3 separate regions of the Homo sapiens genome follow, and regions 2 and 3 are each linked to region 1. Evidence: promoter capture Hi-C in 16 types of primary human blood cells and fetal thymus (Javierre and others, 2016). All regions are on one chromosome and are shown on one strand. Each heading gives the region's core, a stretch centred on a gene start or on the middle of the fragment in contact. The rest is flanking DNA. Distances are from core to core; before and after follow the strand shown. Region 1 holds the start of MIR497HG (mir-497-195 cluster host gene). Region 2 overlaps DVL2 (dishevelled segment polarity protein 2). Region 3 overlaps DLG4 (discs large MAGUK scaffold protein 4).

Region 1 (3,886 bases), core at 825-3,324:
GGCAGGAGGGGGCTTAACCACCCTAATTTGAAGTCCCTGATCTGAGAGATGGGCATGGATCACACCCTCATATTTTGTTTCGGGAGACATTGCGGGCAGGCAAGGCAAAGCTCATTTGGAGAAGGGGTGCTAGAGCTGAATCCAGCTGCAAGGCAGAAGCTCCCCGGATTTGGGCTGGGGAGAGTGTACAGTTGGCCAGGAATGGCCGACCATGGTCCACGGGGCTGGATATCAGGCCCGGGGCCCTCCCCTTCAGACCGGAGTGTGTCTTTATTTGAATGCATGAAAGAACAGCTGAGAAACCGGGAACTGGGAAATTCAGGACGATGAGGTGGCTTTGACATGTGAGGGTTATTTAGGTCTCTGCCCAGCTTGGAGATGAGAATTAGACTAGGGGCTCTCCCTTTGGCATCAGGATGGAGTATTATTTGATCAGTTGTGGGGTGTCTGTTTATTATGGGGTGTTGATTTGATTGTGAGCACCGGTGGCTGCATTCAGCCTTTGAGGCCTATATGGTAAGTTTCAGGTATGGGGCTGACTTGGAAGTTACATTAGTTCTGGGGGTTCTGACACCCACAATTTGGAGATTGTGCTCACCTGTGTCATCTTGGACTATCAGCAGAACCAAAGTACTCATGCTGATTTGGGGGTGCAGTCTATTTTGGGGTGCCATCTAAGTTTCAAGGCTCAGATTAGATTTGGGGAATAAGTTCAATTTGGAGTTTTAAAAATTAGTTTGAGGTGGAACATTATAGGAAGCTGGGAGCAAGTTCGAAGCTTTCTGTGATTGGGGGTCCTGGGAGGGGGGAGCAAACTTTTATATTTGAGTCTTGTGGACACTCACGTTCCACAAAGTGGAAAGACGTGGGGTATTCCTGTGTATCCATGGATACCCAAGAAGCTTTTTCCCCAGGGGAGAAACAAGGTGAGGGCCGCGAGGACAGGAGACTAAAGTTCTGGGGTGTTCTTATTTTGGGGGTGTTTTGTCACTCTGGCTGCTTTTGGTGAAGCTAAGGGATAATCATAAGGTGAGACTGATTTGGGAGTTCACTTAATTTGGACCCTGGTTTGGGATGTCTTTTGCTTATAGTGCCCTCTCACCCCAGATTCTAGAAGTTTCTTTAGTGAACCCCCAAATAAGCCCAGGATTTGAAGGGAGAAACTTGGAAAGGGTGTGGTATCTCCTTTTATTATTATGTGGCTTGAGGGAGAAGAGAGGGAGAAAAGGCGGTTTCAGACTCTGAATCCCAATTTCTTAAGGGAGCACCCCTTAGTTTGGGGGAAGTTGGAGAAAAATGGGGTGTCCCTTGGCCAAGTGGGCACCCCTGACCAGGGCAGTGCTGTTGGAACTGTGGCAAGGAGGGGTGCTGGTGGGGTACAAGGAGGTGATTCTTGCACCCTGATTTTCTAGGATGAGCCCCAAACAGAAAGCAGACAGAGGACTGGGAGTGTGGGTGAGATGGCGGGGAGGGGTTCCCCACGGCAGCCGGGGCTACAGGGTAAGCCAGGCCAGCTCTTCGCGCCTGGGTCCCTTCTCTCTTCGGCCCTCCTCCCCTCTCTCCCTCCCACCGCCCACCCCCCCAACCCAAGAAAAAAAACTGCCTGTGCAACAGCAATGGCAGATTCCAATCCTCCAGGCTTTCCTAAACCACCACGGTGACCAGCCAGGGGGGAGGGGAAGGGAGGAACGGGCTTTCCTGCTTCCTTAAGACAGGGGCAATGAGCTTGACCTCCTGGCCCCTAGCCCTTTGAGGAGTGATTCCCCCCGGTCTGGAAGCCAGGTGTCCTGGACCCTAGCCCCCGAGCGGTGGGGGGGGCCTGGAGAGACGGGGAGGAGGAAGGAGGGAGTGACTTCCAAAATTGGCATCGGGACAGAGCAGGGCTGGCGGGAGGCAGGCAAAAGACGGAATTTTCCTGAAAAAACGGGGGTATCTGAGGACCCCAAATTTGGGGAGCTAGTCCAGGACCGTCCTCCCAACATCCTAGATTTTTTTGGGATTTTTTGGGGACCCCGGGACCCCTCTAGATGGGGTGAGGAATGTAGTGTTGGGTGAATCTGACTGGGGCATTGCAGCTGCCTCTCCCGCCGAGTTGGAGACGGATGGGCTGGGACGGGTTTTGGGGGGGTGTCCCCAATTCTGACTGGGAGTGGAGGAACCCCTCCTGAGATCTCTTGTGGGGGTGCCCCCTCCCCAGGGCACTCCCCAGTCCCTGAGCCAGCCGAGAGGAAGGAGGCCAGCGATGCGACTGGGGCGGCTCCTTTCTCCTGCACCCCAAATGTGAGGGATGCACCCTAAATTTTGCTCTTTTCAAAATAGGGGACCAGGATCTCAGGGGAGAGTAGCTGAGGTAAGTGGGGAGGGAAGTGTCCTCTGTTTTCAGGAGAGACGTGGCGGTTGGGGGGGAGGTTTGGAGGTGCGTGCTGGGGTGGGGTTGGCTTTGTCAGTCTTGGAATTGGGGGGATGATTGGAGAGGCTTTCTCTTATACCCCTAAACTGCAGCCCCCCAGACGGAAACCAAAGGCTGAGACCAGAGAGCCCCCCAACATCCCCAGCCGTTAGGATAGTGTTTAATTTCTCTTTCACCCCCCACAAAGGCTCTGCCGAGGTAGGAGCTGGGGGCAACTGTTAGTTTGGGGGCTATGGAGGGTGGTGGAGGAGCAGGAGGCCTTGGCAAGATTTGATGGAGGGCAGATAGGGGTGTCCGGGAGGGGTCTGGCATCTTCGGGGGCCTAAAAAGACTGCTTACATACACCACCTTGGATCTTTCAGATTGCTAAGAGTTTTGGGGGGTGTGTCGGAAGAGGGGGTGGTAAAAGATGCGATGGGATATAGGAAGATAACTTCTGGATTTTAGGGGGTCATATTTTGATTTGCAAAAGGAGTTTTGGCCCTTGGATTTTGCTTTCTGAGGGGTGTTTTTAAAAAATCAAGTCCTGGACAGGAGAAAAGGGCTGAGGGAAGGCCTGGAGTTGGGGGTGGGGAGAGGCATGTTTGTCTCAGCTTAAACGTGGCTCTCTGGGGTGGGCCCGCCTGCCCTGGCCTGGTGGATGGGCTGATGGAGGTTGCTGTGGGGGCCGGCTCGGGTCCTCAGGGGCCCTGGGGAGTGGGAACAGCACTGGGGGTTGAATACCTGGCCCCCCAGGTCCAGATGGCCCTCTTCCTGGGCTCTGCTGCTCCCCTTCCCCCTGGTCTCCATTTCCTGCCTTTGGCCTCCATCTTGTGGCAGGCCCAGGGCCCAGGGCGACTTCCGGCCCCCCTCTCCCAACCATGTTCCGGCCCCACCACCTCTGGACTGCCAACTCCCAACCCTGCTGGCCTTGGCCCTCTGTCTCTCCTTGCTTTTCTCTTGGGTTCTGACCCAGGGAGAGGAAGGACGGACACAGGAAGCCTTGGGTCCCTGCCCTTGCTGAGACAGGAGGCAGTGTGTTGGCCCCTCCAGTCATTCCCTATTTCTTCTGCCTCTGACCCCACCCTAGGGATCCCCTGAGCTGAGTTCCTACAGAGGGAAGATGGTCCAATCTTACTACACTGTGAGCTCATCCCCATGGTCCGTCGCCTTCCAGTTGCCTGCTCAGCCCGTCCCTGGTTCCTCCCAAACGTTTTTGGGGGCCATGTTTGCCTTTTAAGGCTTCTCTATCCCCCCGCTCCTGGAGGTGGTGCTGGGGTCTTCCCAGCACTGCTATGTGCTCTCTTCCTTTCAACCCACCCCGGTCCTGCTCCCGCCCCAGCAGCACACTGTGGTTTGTACGGCACTGTGGCCACGTCCAAACCACACTGTGGTGTTAGAGCGAGGGTGGGGGAGGCACCGCCGAGGCTTGGCCCTGGGAGGCCATCCTGGAGAAGTGACACAAAAAACATCTGGGGCCTTGTGACAAACTTCTTG
Region 2 (3,886 bases), core at 601-3,100, 210 kb before region 1:
CCCCTGAGGGTGCGTTAGGGAGAGGAGAAATAAGGAAAGGGGATTGAGTTTGGAGATTTCTTAGGTGTCGGAGTGAGTTCTTTCAATGTAAGAGAAGACCTGAACAGGGCAGGAGAAAGTCAACATCCTGGAGCCAGGTGAAGATTGGGAGAAAGTTTGATGGGGGTCGGGGTGGGGATGGTTGGTCCAGCTCACTGACCTCTACCTTGTCGCTTGGCAGGGTGGTGAAGGAAGAAATTTCAGATGACAACGCCCGCCTCCCCTGCTTCAACGGAAGGGTGGTATCCTGGGTAAGAGGTTCTGACACCGAGGACCAGGCCCCCTCAGCATTGCCAAGCTCCCTCAAGCCTCAGTCTGTTTCTGTATCCTCCCCAGGCCGCGCGTTAGCAGCCCTGGCTCTTTACCTCCTGTCTGTTTGGAGAGCCGGCGAGAGGCCCTCAGCCTTCTCCTTCTGGAGTCTCTAATACTTGCTAGGTTTTTTTGCTCTTCTCCAGCTCTCTGAGACCCTTTCTCATTCTTTCACTTACTGCCACCTGTCACACCCTGACTCCCAAGTGAGCCACTGTTTATCATTTGCACCCTTCTAGCTGGTGTCCTCAGATAATCCCCAACCCGAGATGGCCCCTCCAGTCCATGAGCCTCGGGCAGAACTGGCGCCTCCAGCCCCACCTTTACCTCCTTTGCCACCCGAGAGGACCAGCGGCATTGGGGACTCAAGGCCTCCATCCTTCCAGTGAGTCCTTCAGATTCTTGACTGCAGGGGAGGGAGGTGAGGAGGGAACCCAGGCCTTTGGTAGGGGACGCCTAGGATCCGGAGCCCTGTTCTCCTGATGTGGGTTGGAAACCATCTCTGCCTGTCCAGCCCTAATGTGTCCAGCAGCCATGAGAATCTGGAGCCTGAGACAGAAACCGAGTCAGTAGTGTCACTGAGGCGGGAGCGGCCTCGCAGGAGAGACAGCAGTGAGCATGGCGGTGAGGGGCAGGCCTGGGGGCCGGGAAGGGCTGGGCCAGACCCCAGCCTTGGTGGGGTGAGCAGGGGGAAGCTTGGTTCTTGAGCTTCCTGTCCATATGTAGCTGGGGGCCACAGGACTGGTGGCCCCTCAAGGCTGGAGCGCCACCTGGCCGGATACGAGAGCTCCTCTACCCTCATGACCAGCGAGCTGGAGAGTACCAGCCTGGGGGACTCGGACGAGGAGGACACCATGAGCAGGTGTGGCTCCGCACAGCTCTCCCCAGCGCACCCAGCCCCGTCTCGTCTTCCAGTCAATCCTCTTGTTCTTTCTCTTGGCCCCATGACCACTTTGGCCTACGTTTGCTCTCCTTCCCAACCTCCTGGTAGGTTCAGCAGCTCCACGGAGCAGAGCAGTGCCTCCCGCCTCCTTAAGCGCCACCGGCGGCGAAGGAAGCAGAGGCCACCCCGCCTGGAGAGGGTGAGGGGTTCCTACAGGAAGGCTGGTGCTGGGAGAAGGTGGGGCATGGGCTTTGGTTTGGGCGGTGCCAGGACACCGGCAGCACCCCAGGGTTGACCCTGGGTTATTGAAGGGCACTCTGGCTCCTTTTCCCACCACAGACGTCATCCTTCAGCAGCGTCACAGATTCCACAATGTCTCTCAATATCATCACAGTCACGCTAAACATGGGTATGGGGAGAGCCTGTGGCTAGGGCGTGGGGAGGGCCTGGTCTCTAGGGTTCCGGGCGTCCTGTGGCAGGGGCTCCTCTTTTCACATGGCCTCTCTCCACAGAGAAGTACAACTTCCTGGGTATCTCCATTGTTGGCCAGAGCAATGAGCGGGGAGACGGAGGCATCTACATTGGCTCCATCATGAAGGGTGGGGCTGTGGCGGCCGACGGGCGCATTGAGCCAGGGGACATGCTTTTGCAGGTGTGCTGGGGTAGGGCCACTGAGCTGCCCTGCACGGGGGCCCTCAGCCTCTCCCACCGTGTCTCTGACCCACTTGCCGTCGCTTCCAGGTGAATGACATGAACTTTGAGAACATGAGCAACGATGACGCTGTGCGGGTGCTGAGGGACATTGTGCACAAGCCTGGGTGAGTTGCCAAGCAGGTTGCCGGTCCTCAGTCCTCTTTTTTTTTCTCTTTCATGTTTTGTTTTGGAATTTTAATAAGTACTAAGACAGCCGGGCGTGGTGGCTCGAGCCTGTAAACCCAGCACTTTGGGAGGCCCAGATGGGTGGATCACCTGAGGTGAGGAGTTCGAGACCAGCCTGACCAATGTGGTGAAACCGTGTCTCTACTAAAAATAGAAAAATTAAGTGGGCATGGTGGCACATGCCTGTAGTCCCAGCTAGTGAGGTGGCTGAGACAGGAGAATCACTTGAACCCTGGGGGGTGGAGGTTGCAGTGAAACGAGATCACGCCACTGCACTCCAGCCTGGGCGACAGAGCAAGACTCCGTCTCAAAAAAAAAAAAAAGTGCTAAGACATAACGTTCAAAGTACATGAAACAAATGCATGACATAGCAAATAATACTAGAGTAAATATCCATGTCACTGCCATCTAGATCATCAAATAGGAGATTGCTGATACCCTAGAACTTCCTCCTCAGATGTCCCTTCCTGCTCCCAAATGCCTCACTGCCCCAGGGGTAGTCACTCTCCTGACTTCTTTGGCCATCACCATAACAAAGAAAAGCTTTGCCTCACTGGATAGTTACCACCCTTGCACGTATCCTTGAACACTGCAGTTTCGTTTTACCTGTTTTTGGACTTTCTGTGAATGGAACTGTACAGCGTGTACTCTCTTGTCTCACTTGGCAGTATGTTTTTAAGAGTTTTCCATGTTGATGAGTCATCCACATTGTGGTGCCTTCCACCCTCACCTTCTCTAGCCCAGCCGCGATGTGCTTGCTTCTCCCCCTCTTTGTGTCTCTTAATCCATCCTTGCTTCAGACCCCCGCCCTCCTGAGGCCTCCTCTTCCCCTGCGCCCTTGACTGGACTTCTCTTCCCCATAGCCCCATTGTGCTGACTGTGGCCAAGTGCTGGGATCCCTCTCCTCAGGCCTATTTCACTCTCCCCCGAAGTGAGTGACACTCAGGGAGGGGCCTGAAGTTGGGGGTGGGGGCTGCCCAGGAGGCTGGGGCCGGGCCTGTGGTCATGGGGAATGGGTGGGAGGAGGGTCCAGGCAGAGGTGGAACAGGAGGCTGAGTCAGGGAGGGACTGGGCTGGCTTTTGGGGACTGAGAATGGGTCATTTTGGTGCCATCTTTGTCCCAGATGAGCCCATCCAGCCAATTGACCCTGCTGCCTGGGTGTCCCATTCCGCGGCTCTGACTGGCACCTTCCCAGCCTATCCAGGTTCCTCCTCCATGAGCACCATTACATCTGGATCGTCTTTGCCTGATGGTGAGCCGCCAGCCCACCTCATCCCACCCTCCCAGCAGAAGGCTGTCCCGCAGTGGTCTGATCCATTGCCCTTGTGGGAGCGATCCCTGACTCTGGTTACCCGTTGTCTCCTCTGCCAGGCTGTGAAGGCCGGGGTCTCTCCGTCCATACGGACATGGCATCGGTGACCAAGGCCATGGCAGCTCCAGAGTCTGGACTGGAAGTCCGGGACCGCATGTGGCTCAAGATCACCATCCCTAATGCCTTTCTGGGTATGGCTGGGTCCTGGGCAGGTGGCTGGAGAAGGGGAGGAGGTGGTGACCAAAGCCAGGAATGGCACAGGCAGAGGCGAGAGCAGGAGTTGGAAGAAGAACCTGAGGCCTTTTTCCACTGTGGGTGCTCCCAGGCTCGGATGTGGTTGACTGGCTCTACCATCACGTGGAGGGCTTTCCTGAGCGGCGGGAGGCCCGCAAGTATGCCAGCGGGCTGCTCAAAGCAGGCCTGATCCGACACACCGTCAACAAGATCACCTTCTCTGAGCAGT
Region 3 (3,886 bases), core at 1,020-3,519, 190 kb before region 1:
AGGCCCCAGGGCCTTCCGCACTGCACTGGCTGGGGGAAGAGGCGGCGGCCAGGGCGGCCAGCCTGGAGCCTGAGGCACCGGGCTGGCCCCAGTGACACCTCCGTCCCCATCCCCAGAAATACCGCTACCAAGATGAAGACACGCCCCCTCTGGAGCACAGCCCGGCCCACCTCCCCAACCAGGTAAACGCCCCCGAGCTGGTGCACGTGGCGGAGAGGAACTTGTCCCACCTCGAGGCTGGCCACGGGGTCGTGGGCCACGCCCACCTCTCCCCCTTCAAGGTAGGAGACCCTGGTGGCCCCCTCCCCAGTGCGGCCCTCGGAGCCTCGGAGCTGCAGCAATCCCTAAGGGCCGGTAGGGTGAGAGAGAGCCGTGGGGAGGGGGATGCTGGGACTGGGGGCGGGGGTTTGGGGCTTGGGCTCCTGGGGTCTGGGGGAGGGGGCGTTTGTGGGGCTGGAAACACCTTGGTCCCACAGAGGAGAAACAGGCCAGGCCAATGGGAGTGGATGTAAAGCCTAAAGCAAGAATGTGTGTGTGCGCGCGTGCCTGTGCGCGTGTGCTGTGTGTGTGCCTGTGCGTGTGTGCATGCATGCGTGCCTGTGTGTGTGCTGTGTGTGTGTGTGCGTGCGTGCGCCGTTTGTGTGCCTGTGCGTGTGCTGTATGCGTGTGTGTTGAGGTGTGTGCATCCCCCAAGAGGCCCCCACGCCTGGGACCTCTTCATTCCTTCACACCCCCAACCTCCATTTCCATTTTCTGTGTCCAGAGCTCTGTTCCAAGCGCCTGCTGCCCTCATTTGCTCTTGTCCCTTCCCCGCCTCCTCCCCCTACCTCCGCCTCTGGGCCTGGCTCGCCCTGTCCCCAAGTCTCCAGCTCTTTCCATCTGTCTGGCCTGAGACTTCACATGGTGGGGCCTTGCTGCCTCGTCCCCTGCCCCAGCTTTGCTCCACTCCTGAGTTCTCTTCCCCCTCTGCAGCCTTTCCTCCCTGCTGGCTGGCTGGCTGGCTGGCTCTTGATGCTGTCTCTCTCTTCCTCCCACGCATTCTCCTCTCCCTCTCCCTGATCCCCAGCCCAGGCCGCTGGGGCCTGATCAGTCCTTTCCCTCATCAGTCCTCTCCCTCCATCAGCCAGCTCCCCTTTCCCATGTTCCCTCTTGCCTATTCATCTTCACCTTCCCTCTTTTCCTCCTCCCCTCTCTCATCCTCTTGGGTTCTCACCTCTGCCATATCTTCTTTCTATCCCCCTCTGCCCCCTCCATCATCCCCCACCACCTGTTTCCCTTTCTCCTCTCTGCTCACAGCGTCCTCCTCTCTCCAGTCCCGGGAGGCCTGGTTTCTGGGACCTTCCATTCTCCAGTCCACTTTCCATCTTCCCCTTCCTCCATCTCCTCTTCTGGGGACACAGGATGGGGAGGACTGGAGAGCACCAGGCAAGCTGTGAGATTGAGGGGACACTGTGGGGTCAGGGTGGGGATTCTAGGATGTTGTGGGATGCTCTGGGAAGGGGGAGGTTGCTGACATTTCACCAAGAAGATGGGGAGGAGGTCTCTGAGCCTAGGGAGCGGGCAAGCAGGTTCTGGAGTTAGAACTGGCAAGAGAGGAGTTGGGGGATAGGAAGGGTAAGAGGTCCTGGGTCAGGGGCCAGATAGGGATAAGACTGTGAGATCAGGGCAGTGAATGAGGCTGACAGAGCAAGGAAAGGAAGGCCCTGGAGACAGGGATGGTACAGAGTGTTTGTGCGAATTCTGTGGATGCTAGGAGTGAGGGAAAGAAGACTAGAGATGCTTTGTGCAAGGCAGGGCCATTAAATCCCTGAGCAGGGGGAAGAGGAGGTAGGGAGCCTGAGGGGTGGTAGTTAGTACAGAGCTGCTGCTGATCAGAGCTCAGGAGCAGAAGGGGGTGGAGGGAGAGAGTGTTGGAGGCCATAAGCATGGGGTGGAGGTCTCAGGACAAGGCCTCACCTGGGGAACAGGAGAAGCCCCAATTTTCAGAAGAGAGGGGAGTTGATTGAGAAGTGTAAGATTGTTACTTGAGAATAATCTTGAGGGTATGAAGGTAGGGTAAGGGAGAATGGTGATAAACTCTCTGGGGAATCAGAAATTGAGATGGAGTAGCTGGGTGGGGTGGCATGTGCCTGTAGCTACTCAGGAGGCTGAGGTGGGAGGACTGCTTGAGCCCAGGAGTTCAAGGCCGCAGTGAGCTATGATCACACCACTGCACTCCAGCCTGGGTGACACAGCGAGACCTTGTCTCTGGAAAAAAAGAAATTGGGATGGAGGATGAGGCCACATTGGTAAGGGATGGGGCTGGAGGGTGCGACAGGGCCAGGGAAGCGGATGGAGAATGGAGGCTGGGGTTGGAAGATGGATGTTGAAGGGCGAGACAGGGATGGAGATGGAGCATGTGGGATGCGGGCAGAGATAGGGATGGGAAGCAAATGAATGTCGTAGTGGATGAAGGTGGGTGTGCTGGGAAGGAGGTTCCAGGATAGGGATGGGGATGGGGATTGAGGATGGGCTATGGGATGGAGGACGGGCTATGGGATGGAGGACGGGCTGCGGGATGGGGGACGGGCTGCGGGATGGGGGACGGGCTGCGGGATGGGGGACGGGCTGCGGGATGGGGGACGGGCTGTGGGATGGGGGACGGGCTGTGGGATGGGGGATGAACACGTGGATGAGATTTTGGCAGTCAGTGACTGTTGGTTGGACAACAGCATTTGCTGATATGTGAAGGGTTGGAGGGTGGTGTTAATAGATTTATGGGTGTGAAATCTGTGATACAGCTTGAAAATGGTCGGTAGTTTGTAGGCTTGAGAAATAGCAGTAGGAGAGGGGAGGGACCCCTTTGGACGGGGAGAGCGGGAAGGAGACTGGGGAATCCTTGCGCTTGGGCGACTGCAAATACATGTTTCTTTAAGGAGGAAGTAGGTTGGGGACCCCGGAAGGAGGCTCTTGGCGGCCTCCCCCCATTGCCATAGAGACGTGGCTTCGGTTGCCCTGGCAATTGGGGAAGCCCCTAGGACCGGGCTAAAGCGGGCCCCGCCTGGGAGTCTAGAGACCAGGCGATTGACGTCAGGGACCTGGGCACGCCCCACTTTAACCCTTTCCCGAATGAAGTGGGGGGAGGGAGTAGATGAGCGGGATAGGACCCGGATGTCTTTCACCACTCCCAGTTCCTGACGTCCTTTGCACTGCGTAGGGTGAGGGGCGTAGGGGAGCGAGGAAGGCAGGTTATTCAGGATGCGCTGCGCCCACAAACCTCTTCAGCCCGGCCTCCTCTCGGCCTGGCTAACGTGGGGCGGGGCCCAGGGCAGGAGAGGCGGGGCTAGCGGATCCCTTCTGCGCTCAGGAGTTTGGTCGGCCCCAGGCCACGCCCCACCCCCCTGTTGTCCTGACGACAGGGCCTCCTGGAGGTGGGTCTCCCCGGGTCTTGACTGGTCCTAGATACCGTTGCTAGGCAACACGGTCCTTAGAGGAAGGGGTGGATTGGACGGCTGGTTGGTGAGACCGAGGGAGGGGCCTGCAGCTGGGGAACCCCGGATTCCCGGGGTGCAGGGTTTAGGGCAAATGTCTGTGAAAGTGAGGGGCAAGTCTAGGGGAGGGTTATGAAAATATCTGGGTAGATATGGGGGGTTGGGGGGATGGGGCAGGAAATGGGGACCAGGACCCGGTGGACATGATCCCTGGGGTGTCCATGTGTAGCACATAAGGCATGTAACACCCTGTGGTGTTACATCCGGTGAGAAGCTCCCTTCCCCCAAGCCTACCCCCCTCTCCCCACTCTTTGCCATCTGCTGCTCCCCTCTCCGTCTGGCTGTCTCCCTTCCCGCTTCTCCTACACCTCCTTCCACATGCAGGGGGCCCCGGGCTGGGCAGAGTTAGATCCTTG

The links. The method cuts DNA at HindIII sites, captures the fragments that hold promoters and counts their contacts. A CHiCAGO score of 5 or more calls a contact.
Region 2: a fragment that was not itself captured here is called in contact with the fragment with the promoter of MIR497HG in region 1 in 1 of 17 cell types (monocytes); the score reaches 5.3 in monocytes.
Region 3: a contact is called between a fragment that was not itself captured here and the fragment with the promoter of MIR497HG in region 1, in 2 of 17 cell types (monocytes and naive CD8 T cells). The highest score is 5.9, in monocytes.

What each region holds. Positions count from the first base shown.
Region 1 is chr17:7,017,842-7,021,727 of GRCh38, reverse strand. It overlaps MIR497HG (mir-497-195 cluster host gene), which reads left to right and starts at 2,074. Exons shown (of 3, transcript NR_038310.1): 1 at 2,074-2,350. MIR497 (microRNA 497) reads left to right here and starts at 3,706; the gene lies at 3,706-3,817. RefSeq lists an enhancer at 3,000-3,169. The HindIII fragment of the contact is 3,977 bases long and covers 905-3,886 here.
Region 2 is chr17:7,227,132-7,231,017 of GRCh38, reverse strand. It overlaps DVL2 (dishevelled segment polarity protein 2), which reads left to right. Exons shown (of 15, transcript NM_004422.3): 2 at 221-290; 3 at 588-733; 4 at 863-972; 5 at 1,075-1,210; 6 at 1,340-1,430; 7 at 1,571-1,640; 8 at 1,744-1,883; 9 at 1,973-2,049; 10 at 2,974-3,041; 11 at 3,235-3,363; 12 at 3,483-3,614; 13 at 3,749-3,886. Among named protein-coding and RNA genes, the nearest start is that of DVL2, 5.4 kb to the left of the region's middle. RefSeq lists an enhancer at 345-1,544. The HindIII fragment of the contact is 1,610 bases long and covers 1,046-2,655 here.
Region 3 is chr17:7,204,470-7,208,355 of GRCh38, reverse strand. DLG4 (discs large MAGUK scaffold protein 4) reads left to right here. Exons shown (of 20, transcript NM_001321075.3): 2 at 117-182. Among named protein-coding and RNA genes, the nearest start is that of DLG4, 11 kb to the left of the region's middle. RefSeq lists an enhancer at 3,137-3,186. The HindIII fragment of the contact is 8,126 bases long and covers 1-3,886 here.